Linked DNA regions of Homo sapiens: region 1 is linked to region 2. The links are contacts of gene promoters, found by promoter capture Hi-C in human tissues and cell types (Jung and others, 2019). All regions are on one chromosome and are shown on one strand. The core of a region is centred on a gene start or on the middle of the fragment in contact, and the rest is flanking DNA. Distances in the headings are between cores, read along the strand shown. Region 1 overlaps LARGE1 (LARGE xylosyl- and glucuronyltransferase 1). Region 2 holds the start of RFPL3S (RFPL3 antisense).

Region 1 (5,019 bases), core at 2,044-4,543, 1.3 Mb after region 2:
TGCTTTACTTCGCAGGCTATGCTATCTCTGCTTCAAGCACTTGACTGCCATTGTAGCATAAAAGCGGCCATAGAAATACATAACAAATGGCTGTGGCTGTGTTCCAGTCAAATTTTATTTCCAAACACAAGCAGAGGGCCAGATCAGGCATACTTTTTGGCCATAGATTATGGATCCTGTCCTAGAACATTGTGTGGGTCTCCTGGGCTAGTCCCCCTGCCTCTGATTTCTCCCTGTTCCTGTCAGCTCACTCGCAGGTGCCACGGATAACATTCTTCAATCCTATTTCCACCACGTTTGCAGTCTGATAATGCACAAAAACAACTCTATCTACTTCAAGGTCATCCATCAAATTCAACAAACACTTGGTCAGTTCCCCCTGAGTACATGTCCTTGGGTGCTGTGTCTGCATCGTCTCATTTTAATTTATGCAACGCTGTCATGAAGTGGGTATTCTCACTATTTCCATTTGACTAATGAAAAAAAAAAAAGAGAAACAGGCACATGATTTAACTAGTTCCATGTCATCCCAGCAACAATGGCAGAGGGAGAGTCTTGAACCCAGGTTCACTGGCTCCAGATAAATGGCTCTTTCCGCACCGAACCGGAATGTCTCCTATTCAACACCCTCCGAACAAGTCCAGCCTAATTTGTGGTTGCGGTTGTTGTTTCTGCTTCATTCCCTGGTCCCTCAGGCCAGTGGTCCTCAATCTGGGCTTCCATTAAAAAACTTAGGAAACAATATGAATGTGCACAGGTCCCAACCTAGATGAATTCATATAGCATCTCTGGAGGTGGGGGTCTAGTTATCAGCATTTAAAAAAAAATTTTAATTTAATTTTACGGTCCGGGATACATGTGCAGGACATGCAGGTTTGTTACATGGTAAACATGTGCCACAGTGGTTTGCTGCACAGATCAACCCATCACTTAGCTATTAAGCCCAGCATCCATTAGCTACTCTTACTGATGCTCTCCCTCCCCTGCCAACTCCCCAACAGGCCCCAGTGTGTGTTGTTCCCCTACTTGTGTCCATGTGCTCATTGTTCAGCTTCCACTTATGAGTGAGAACATGCGATTTTTGGTTTTCTTTTCCTGTGTTACTCTGCTGAGGATAATGGCTTCCAGCTTCATCCATGTTCATGCAAAGGACATTGTCTCATTCCTTTTTATGGCTGCATAGTATTCCATGGTGTATATGTACCATATTTTCTTTATTGAATCTATCACTGATGGGCATCTGGGTTGATTCCAGTCTTTGCTATTGGGAATAGTGCTGCAATAAACATATGTGTGCATGTATCTTTGTAACAGAATGATTTATATTCCTTTGGGTTTTCAGCATTTTTAAAAACAGCCACTCCCATGGGATTCTCATGTGTAATGAAGGTTGAGAAATGCTGGCTGAGGCATTTCCCCAGACTCTCTAGATTCAAAGGAAGTCTTAGCATTGCCACACTTAATTATAGTATTGCTCTGACCCTGCACTCCATTTCCCTTACACAAGCCTCTACTGTATTCTCTCAGCAGCTTCCATCATGTGACCCAGACCCACATGATTTCCTGGTATTGTAGCTCCTCCAAGCATAGGGCCTGCTTTGCTCCTCGGCATCGCCCTGCTTCCTGGAAGACAGTCTCCTTCAAAAGCAGTTCCCTTCTAGCCCAGCTGCCTGACTATCCAGCTTCTCCGGTTTCTGGTTCCTTTCTCTTGACCAATCACAGGTCACCTTATTCCAATATATGTTTCAATTTTTCATTCTCCATATGAGACTATATTCATTTAGCAATTTGTAATTTTTGTTAGAAAATGCCCTCCTTTTAATTAACATAAAGATTTCACACCCTCATTCAATGCCAAATATCTAATATCATTTGATATTTCAAAGTAAATTAAATATTGCAGCCAAAGTCATTTTAGAAAAATTTAGAAAACTCAGTTTGATCTTAAAAGTTAATTTTGATCATGAGATGTCCACAGGAGAGCTGAGTCTGCCAACGTGTCATCAGCTTTTCTTTTCTAGGCAGTTTATAAGTCACAGCAAGACACAGGTCCAGGCTGAGCCATTTTCTTAAGTTTCAAAAGCATGGAATCAGATTTGCTGTGGGAAGGAAAATGGCAATGATGACACACAAAGGCTGCTCGCTTTTTATGAGGTACACAGGGAATGTTTTGCCCCAAAATTCCCCTAAGTGATTTTCTGGAAGTTATCTTTGGCAACCAAAGCACACTTGAGTTCCAGCAAAGGCCCTGGAGACAGATCTTCTGACAAAGATGGAAGAACAGTTAAAAAAAAAAAAAAAAAAAGGAGAGTTCCTCACTAGCTTCTAAAAAGAATTTGCAACTACAGTGCCAGGGAAAGAGGCCTGGATTCACTGCACCATAATAGGCTGAATGAGATCTGACTTTTGTCTTCCATAAAATCATTTCCAAGAACGTTAGCTTAAAGAGCTTCATTAAGTCAAGAAAATGAAGACATTTTTAGCACCAATTTGCTGTACCTATACCTGGGTTTAGACTACAAATGCTTGAAGTGTGTTCTAACGAGCAATGATACCAGTTTTTGTCTTTTGAAACTTCAGGTTCAATGATTTCAAAGCTTCAAATGTTTTGTTGTGTGTGTGTGTGTGTGTGTTTTTTTTTTTTTTTTTTGCCAAATATGCTAAGTTTTGAAAGTTGGAGGCAGTTGGTCTTTGAACTGCTGTTACCATGGTGGGGCAACCATGTCTTCCTGCTTCTATAACTGGCCCGTCATATACTCAAGGAGTCTGAGTATGGACAAAAGGGCTTTGTTAGTAGCATTCAAATCGTCACCAACCAAGGCCAAAAAAGATAATGTATTTAGTGCTCTGTTTCCTAGAAAAATGGAAGGACTTGACAGCAGAGTGAAGGTCTTCTCTTAGATCACCAGGTGGTTTAGAAAACCGTCATTGGAGGGTAATGATAACAGTGTATACTAGAAAAGGTGAATAGATATTCACCGCAAATCCTGACAATTGATCTGTGTGTGAGAGCACAATAAATTCACATTCCAGTCATCTTTGAAGAGCCTCTGCCCCCAGTTAGCCCCTAAACTTCAATCACTTTTACACAGCCTTGAAGGCATCACCAGCGTTAGTGACGGTCTCCAATGGTTGAGTCTGAGAAAGCATCCTTTCTCCTTCCCCAGTTTCTTGAGTCCTATTTCATACATATGCAATAGTTGGACACAATCCCCTTTGTTGGTAGATTCATCAAAACTAAAAGCTAAACAACCATAACGATTTTATCCTTTGCAAAGCATCAACTGAGTGTCCTCAATGTGGCTATTTACTATAAAATCAAATGCAGAAATACTATAGAATTTCTTAATTTTCTCTTTAGCAGCACTCAAGATGAAAGATTTCATAAGTGTTTTTTCCACTGATTTAATTTTTTAAAACCTTTGCAATAAATGTGTTATTTGATATGAAATATTCATAGCCCTTATAAAATCCCACTAAAATGTTCCAAGAGTGAGGCGAATCACACGTGCTAAGAATCATATTTTACAGTAAAAATTTTTAATGAGGTTTGATTTTTTTTTTTGTAGCTAAAATCTTGTTCAAATCAGAAGACCCACATGGGATGATTTTTTAGCAAAGATTTTCAATTTTATTTTGCATTCATCATACTGAGTATGTTGAAAACTATCCTTTTCTCACTTTGTGAATCTATACTTGCTGTAAGCCTCAAACTGTCATTCTGGTTGGCCATATTTATTACCAAAAAAGGTTCTATGATTTTTTTTTTTTTTTTGAGCCAGGGTCTCGCTCTGTTGCCCAGGCTGGAGTACAGGGGCTCAGTCTTGGCTCACTGCGACCTCCACCTCCCAGGTTCAAGCGATTCCCTTGCCTCAGCCTCCCAAGTAGCTGGGATTACAGGCGCGCCACCATGCTTGGCTAATTTTTGCATTTTTAGTAGAGACGGGGTTTCACCATGTTGGCCAGCCTGTTCCTCGAACTCCTGACCTCAAGTGATCCATCTGCCTCAGCCTCCCAAAGTGCTGGGATTACAGATGTGAGCTTCCGCACCTGGCATTTCTGTGATTTTTTTTTTTTAAATGAGGAGCACTGACAATAATGTCTGGTTTGGGTTACAGAGGATGAAAGATTTCAATGGCAAACAGCAGCTATTTGAGGATGCCAGACAAATCAGCAAAGCCCTGACCCCATTCATTCCTGCTCCTTGGGCTTCTGTGCCCCTCCTGCTTCACTTGAGAGGAGAAATATCCAAGTGAAATTCAGATCTACAGAGAAGAGTTAGGGACTCTCATCAAAAAGGATCCAACAGAATGATGACCGTACATCATGAGTGTGTCTTTAATTGGACTGCATCAGAATTGAACTATGGTGTTCTGCTGTCCTCGGGAGGGAGGGGGACTACCAGATAACCCACTCAGACTTTGATATCCTTCTCTGTATTTGGAAGACAGTTGTTCCATGAATGTCTTGGGACTGTAAGAAGAAAACTGAATGTGAAACATGACTAAAAATCTAGAGCAGGGGTGTCCAATCTTTTGGCTTCCCTGGGCCACACTGGAAGAAGAATTGTCTTGGGCCACACATAAAAAACACTAACACTAAGGACAGCTTAGGAGCCAAAAAAAAAAAAAAAAAAAAAAAGGAAAAGAATCTCATAGTGTTTTCAAAGTGGCCAAATTTGTGTTGGGCCACATTCAAAGCTGTCCACAGGTTGGATAAGCCTGGTCCAGAGAGTGTTCTTTAGGCTATGCGTCAGGTAGAATGGTCAGTTTGCCTATCTGACCACTGCCCTTGAAATGGTGCACCTGCCAAACCTGAGCAAAAGTTCTCTTCCCTTATACTGCATGTAAGCAAGATCAACATGGGAGGAAAGGCCCTGCCCCATCTTTTCAGGAGCCCCAGCATCAGTGAGGATGGACTTGACTTGCACCATATTCTCGGGGCCCTCTGACATACCCCATCTCCTCTACAGTCAACTGGCTTTGAGACAAATCACCGCCCTTCATCCAAACTCCCCAC
Region 2 (4,457 bases), core at 1,320-3,819:
GGAAGGCAGAGAGACGGGCAGAAAGGAAATGAGAAATAGAGCCTTTGTCTTTCCAGGTAATAGCAGATGAAAGCGACACGAAATACTCAAACTTCAAATGAGCAACTACTAAAATGCATGCTAGAATTCAACCACAGAGTCCTGTCACTCCCTCAGCCCATTTTAAAGTCCAGCAGAACTGCCACTGACTCCTTGATATTGACCAACTCCCTTTCAACCTCCACAGACCCCCATCTGCTGCTGTAACATTTAACATCTGGGGTATAGGATTCAGCCCCTGTTTATGTGTAAATTTTTATTGAGGAACTAAATTCAATATCAGGTACCAGGGCTAATTATATTTACTCAATTCTTTGTTATAAATCAATTATTAAAAACTGGAAAATACTGAAATACATGTTAAAATATCCACTGTAAATCAAAGATCTTCCTTTTAGTCTTCCCTTCCTATCCCTTGTGTTTGCAATCATTGCATGAGGGGGCCTAGTTTCAGCCAGGTCTAGTTCACCTAGCCATATGAGGTCTAGTTTCAGCCCAAGCTACCCACAGTGAAGGAAGGCAGAGTGAGGAGATGACCCCATGTGAGCACCGAGGCTCTTTAACCCAGCTGTACAGGAGAGTTGCCACAAGGGTGACACCTGAGGCTAATTGTGAAGTGGTATCCTGTGTTCTGTGATTCTTGTGCCTTAGCCACCTGAGTAGCTGGAATTACAGGTGTGCACCACCACGCCCAGCTAATTTTGCATTTTTAGTAGAGATGGGGTTTCTCCATGTTGGTCAGGCTGGTCTTGAACTCCTGACCTCAGGTGATCTGCCTGCCTCGGCCTCCCAAAGTGCTGGGATTACAGGCATGAGCCACCGCGCCCAGCTGCCTTATTTATTCTTAACACATGTAAGTGCCTCTAACTTTCGATTGTTTCCAAGTCATGGAACGAACAACCTCCTTAGAAAGAACTCTGAAGGATAGGTCAGGAGAACTAAGTCACACAATCCATCAGAAACAGTATTAACAGTTTTTCAAAGTTACACTTTATATGCAAACTTGTACAATTATCATCTTATTATTTTTAAATGTATCTTTACATATATGTATGTGACCTACGTGTTTCCTGGTGTGAGTAAATCTGTATGTTCTTGGTTAATAGTGTTTACCGATTCATTTCACTTCTCTATCTTTGTATGTTGAAATATGAACTACTCTCTGGATGAGAAAAAATGATTACACTTGATTATATTTACCTTTGGAAAGGTAAGTGGTTTGGGTGATTGACTATAATTGTTATCTCTATCATTTTGGATAAACCCCAATCATAAAAATAAGTGTGTTTTGTTTCACACACTGACACATAGACAATACACATTCTTACTTCTTTTCAAAAAGTTAATATGTGAATATAAATGACATATTCCAAATTTACTAAACTGAATACACATTTCATGAAAAAGGAGAGAGGAAAGACATACTAAAAACAGGCCAGGGCCTGGTGTGGTGGCTCACGCCTGTAACACCACCACTTTGGGAGGCCGAGGCAGGTGGATCACCTGAGGTCAGGAGTTCAAGACCAGCCTGGCCAACATGGTAAAACCTTGTCTCTACAAAAATACAAAAATTAGCCGGGCATGATGGTGGGTGCCTGAAATCCCAGCTATTCGGGAGGCTGAGGCGAGAGAATCATTTGAACCCGGGAGGCGGAGGTTGTAGTGAGCCGAGATCGCACCGTTGCACTCCAGCCTGGGCGACAGAGTGAGACTCCATCTCAAAAACAAACAAACAAACAAAAAAACAACAACAAAAGACAAAGATGGACACACTTCGTTGTGTTAAAAGCCTCAAAGACATCTGCATCATTCTAGCTTTGCTCCTAATTTTTAAAATTAATGATTTTAATAGGTTCTTAATTAGGTAAAAACTGCATTAAAACATACTTTGCCATATTTTTCCCAGAAGGATACCTAATTGGGTGGTTTGAGGGGTGCCAGATGTAACAGGAAATAAGACATGTCTTTTAAATAAAGGAAAAGCTCAAAGGCATCCTGCTTGATACTAGAATCAAATATATAAATTGAGGAATAAAACATAACCGGGAAACACATTTATAACTGCATATGAAAAATACAGAGGAGAATTTTTTAATAAAATATATTTTTAAATATTAACTAGTACATTTGAGAGGACAGCATTCAACAGGCCAATGTGAACATACCTTTAATGCAGGAACTCAGGTTCCCCATAAGAAAGACCAGAATCTGTGAAAATGACAGCAAGCATGTTCAACCTGCTATGAACTTTGAAAAACTCAGCACAGACAGTGGCAGTTAGGACCGAGGGCAAGATATACCCAATCACATAACCATGGTGATAGGAGCATCATCAACGTCTCAGGGTAAAGTCACAATGTGTATTGTGAGGTCCGCTTTCTGCTGCACCAACAAGAGTGCTTTCACACGCACAGGAGGGTCATTAAAGATTAGGCCTTTTACGGCAGGGAGTGGTGGCTCACACCTGTAATCCCAGCACTTTGGGAGGCCGAGGTGGGTGGATCACGAGGTCAGGAGATAGAGACCATCCTGGCTAACATGGTGAAACCCCGTCTGTACTAAAAACACAAAAAATTAGCCGGGCGTGGTGGCGGGAGCCCCCAGCTACTCGGGAGGCTGACGCAGGAGAATGGCGTGAACCCGGGAGGCGGAGCTTGCAGTGAGCCGACATAGCGCCACTGCACTCCAGCCTGGGCGACAGAGCGAGACTCCGTAAAAAAATAAAATAAAATAAAATAAAATAAAAGATTAGGCGTTTTACTTAAAAAAAAAACAACAAAACCCAAGCTCATTAATTACTATTCTGTGCTTATTAAAATAAGTTTTAGGAGGAGAAATTGTGTACCCCAAAATACACTCAATGGCAAGAATTTCAAACTGAGCAGGGGCAAAACCGATATGTTAGTAACAACCAGAAGTTCCATTCTCGATTCGAAATTCCATTGCCAAATATTTCTACCATTCCTGAGTCATCTAATATTTCTAGAACCAATAAGCAAACTGTTCAGAATTAAAGACAGCATAAATGGATATTGTTATAAAAGTCATGTTTCTTAAAAAGTGACATTTTTTAAAGTCACATTTTAAAAGTCATATTTCCCTAAAAAGTCATATTTCTACCATTCCTGAGTGATCTAATGTTTCTAGAAGCAATAAACTGTTCAGAATTAGAAAAAAGTGTTACTTGATATTATAAAAATCATATTTCTCTCACAATATAATTATGAAACTTATTTTTCCACTTATCTCTATATATTACTATGCACTTATTTATCTCCCAAACTTTGTGAATTCACAGAGGAATTTGTCTACCATTGTGTATGTAAACGGCTGGCCATTCACTGAGTATTTAAAGGAAAAAAAAATCACTATATTTTCACCAGTGCATCTTCTCGGTGGGGTGAACACTTTGGGTGAATACATATAATTTTTTATTTGAGACAGGGTCTCACTCTGTCACTCAGGCTGGAGTGCAGTGGCTTGATCATGGCTCACTGCAGCCTTGACCTCCCAGGCTCAGGTGATCCTCCCAACTCAGCCTCCCATGTAGCTGGGACTACAGGTTCTTGCCGCCATGCTCAGCTAATATTTTGTAGAGATGGGGTTTTTCCATGGTGCCCAGGCTGGTCTTCAACTCTTGGATTCAAGCAATCCACCCACCTCGACCTCCCAAAGTATTGGGATTAGAGGCGTGAACCACCATGCCCAGCCTAATACATATAATTAAAGTGTTTCTGAATGCAGAATTTTAGATAACTTTCAAAATGTATAACTACGTGTGTATTCTGGCTGATACATAACACCCAATTGCAAATACTTTTATGATATGCCCAAGAAAACAAGCTGTTGAAAGTGACCTGCCCTAAAATAAATAGAACAAATGAAAATTTTAGGGTTAAGATGAGAGAGTTGCTATGTTTCAAAGAGAATAGGTACCCTTCATGATATAAATATTACAGTACAAATGTCTATCATTGCTAAGTACAAATTTCTAGAACAAATAAATAGGTCACAAATGATGTATACAATCTGCATTAATATAGATGATGCTATATTTTGTCCAGTGATTATAAAACAGAGGGTGTAATGGGGTAGGTGCTGAAAGAATAGGTCATTCTGTGTTGTTATAAACAGAAAATTTCAATGGCTTCCAGATTGAACAAATATATGTATATACACAAATTATACACACACACACACGATACTATAGTTATATGTGTATGTGTTTGTATACTCAGAAATGCAGCAAACTAAAAAAAAACTTTAACAATCCCCACAGATTCATGCTTCTGAATGCTCAAATGGAGGAGAAAATTTAAAAAGAAGTGGAAAATATAGTGAGAAAATCTACTCATCCTATTGGAGGAGCTGATATCTATTTTAAGTTTAGAGAGGCAGGCTTAAATAAGTAAATGTTT

Evidence for each region. Contacts are between HindIII fragments. The study calls those that stand out against the background at their distance.
Region 1: a fragment that was not itself captured here is called in contact with the fragment with the promoter of RFPL3S in region 2 in 1 of the 25 tissues and cell types used here (thymus).

What each region holds. Positions count from the first base shown.
Region 1 is chr22:33,657,459-33,662,477 of GRCh38, forward strand. The region is part of intron 2 of LARGE1 (LARGE xylosyl- and glucuronyltransferase 1); the gene reads right to left. Among named protein-coding and RNA genes, the nearest start is that of SNORA50B, 45 kb to the right of the region's middle. The HindIII fragment of the contact is 6,747 bases long and covers 1-5,019 here.
Region 2 is chr22:32,368,695-32,373,151 of GRCh38, forward strand. It overlaps RFPL3S (RFPL3 antisense), which reads right to left and starts at 2,570. Exons shown (of 5, transcript NR_104232.1): 1 at 2,504-2,570; 2 at 2,205-2,247. The HindIII fragment of the contact is 22,540 bases long and covers 1-4,457 here.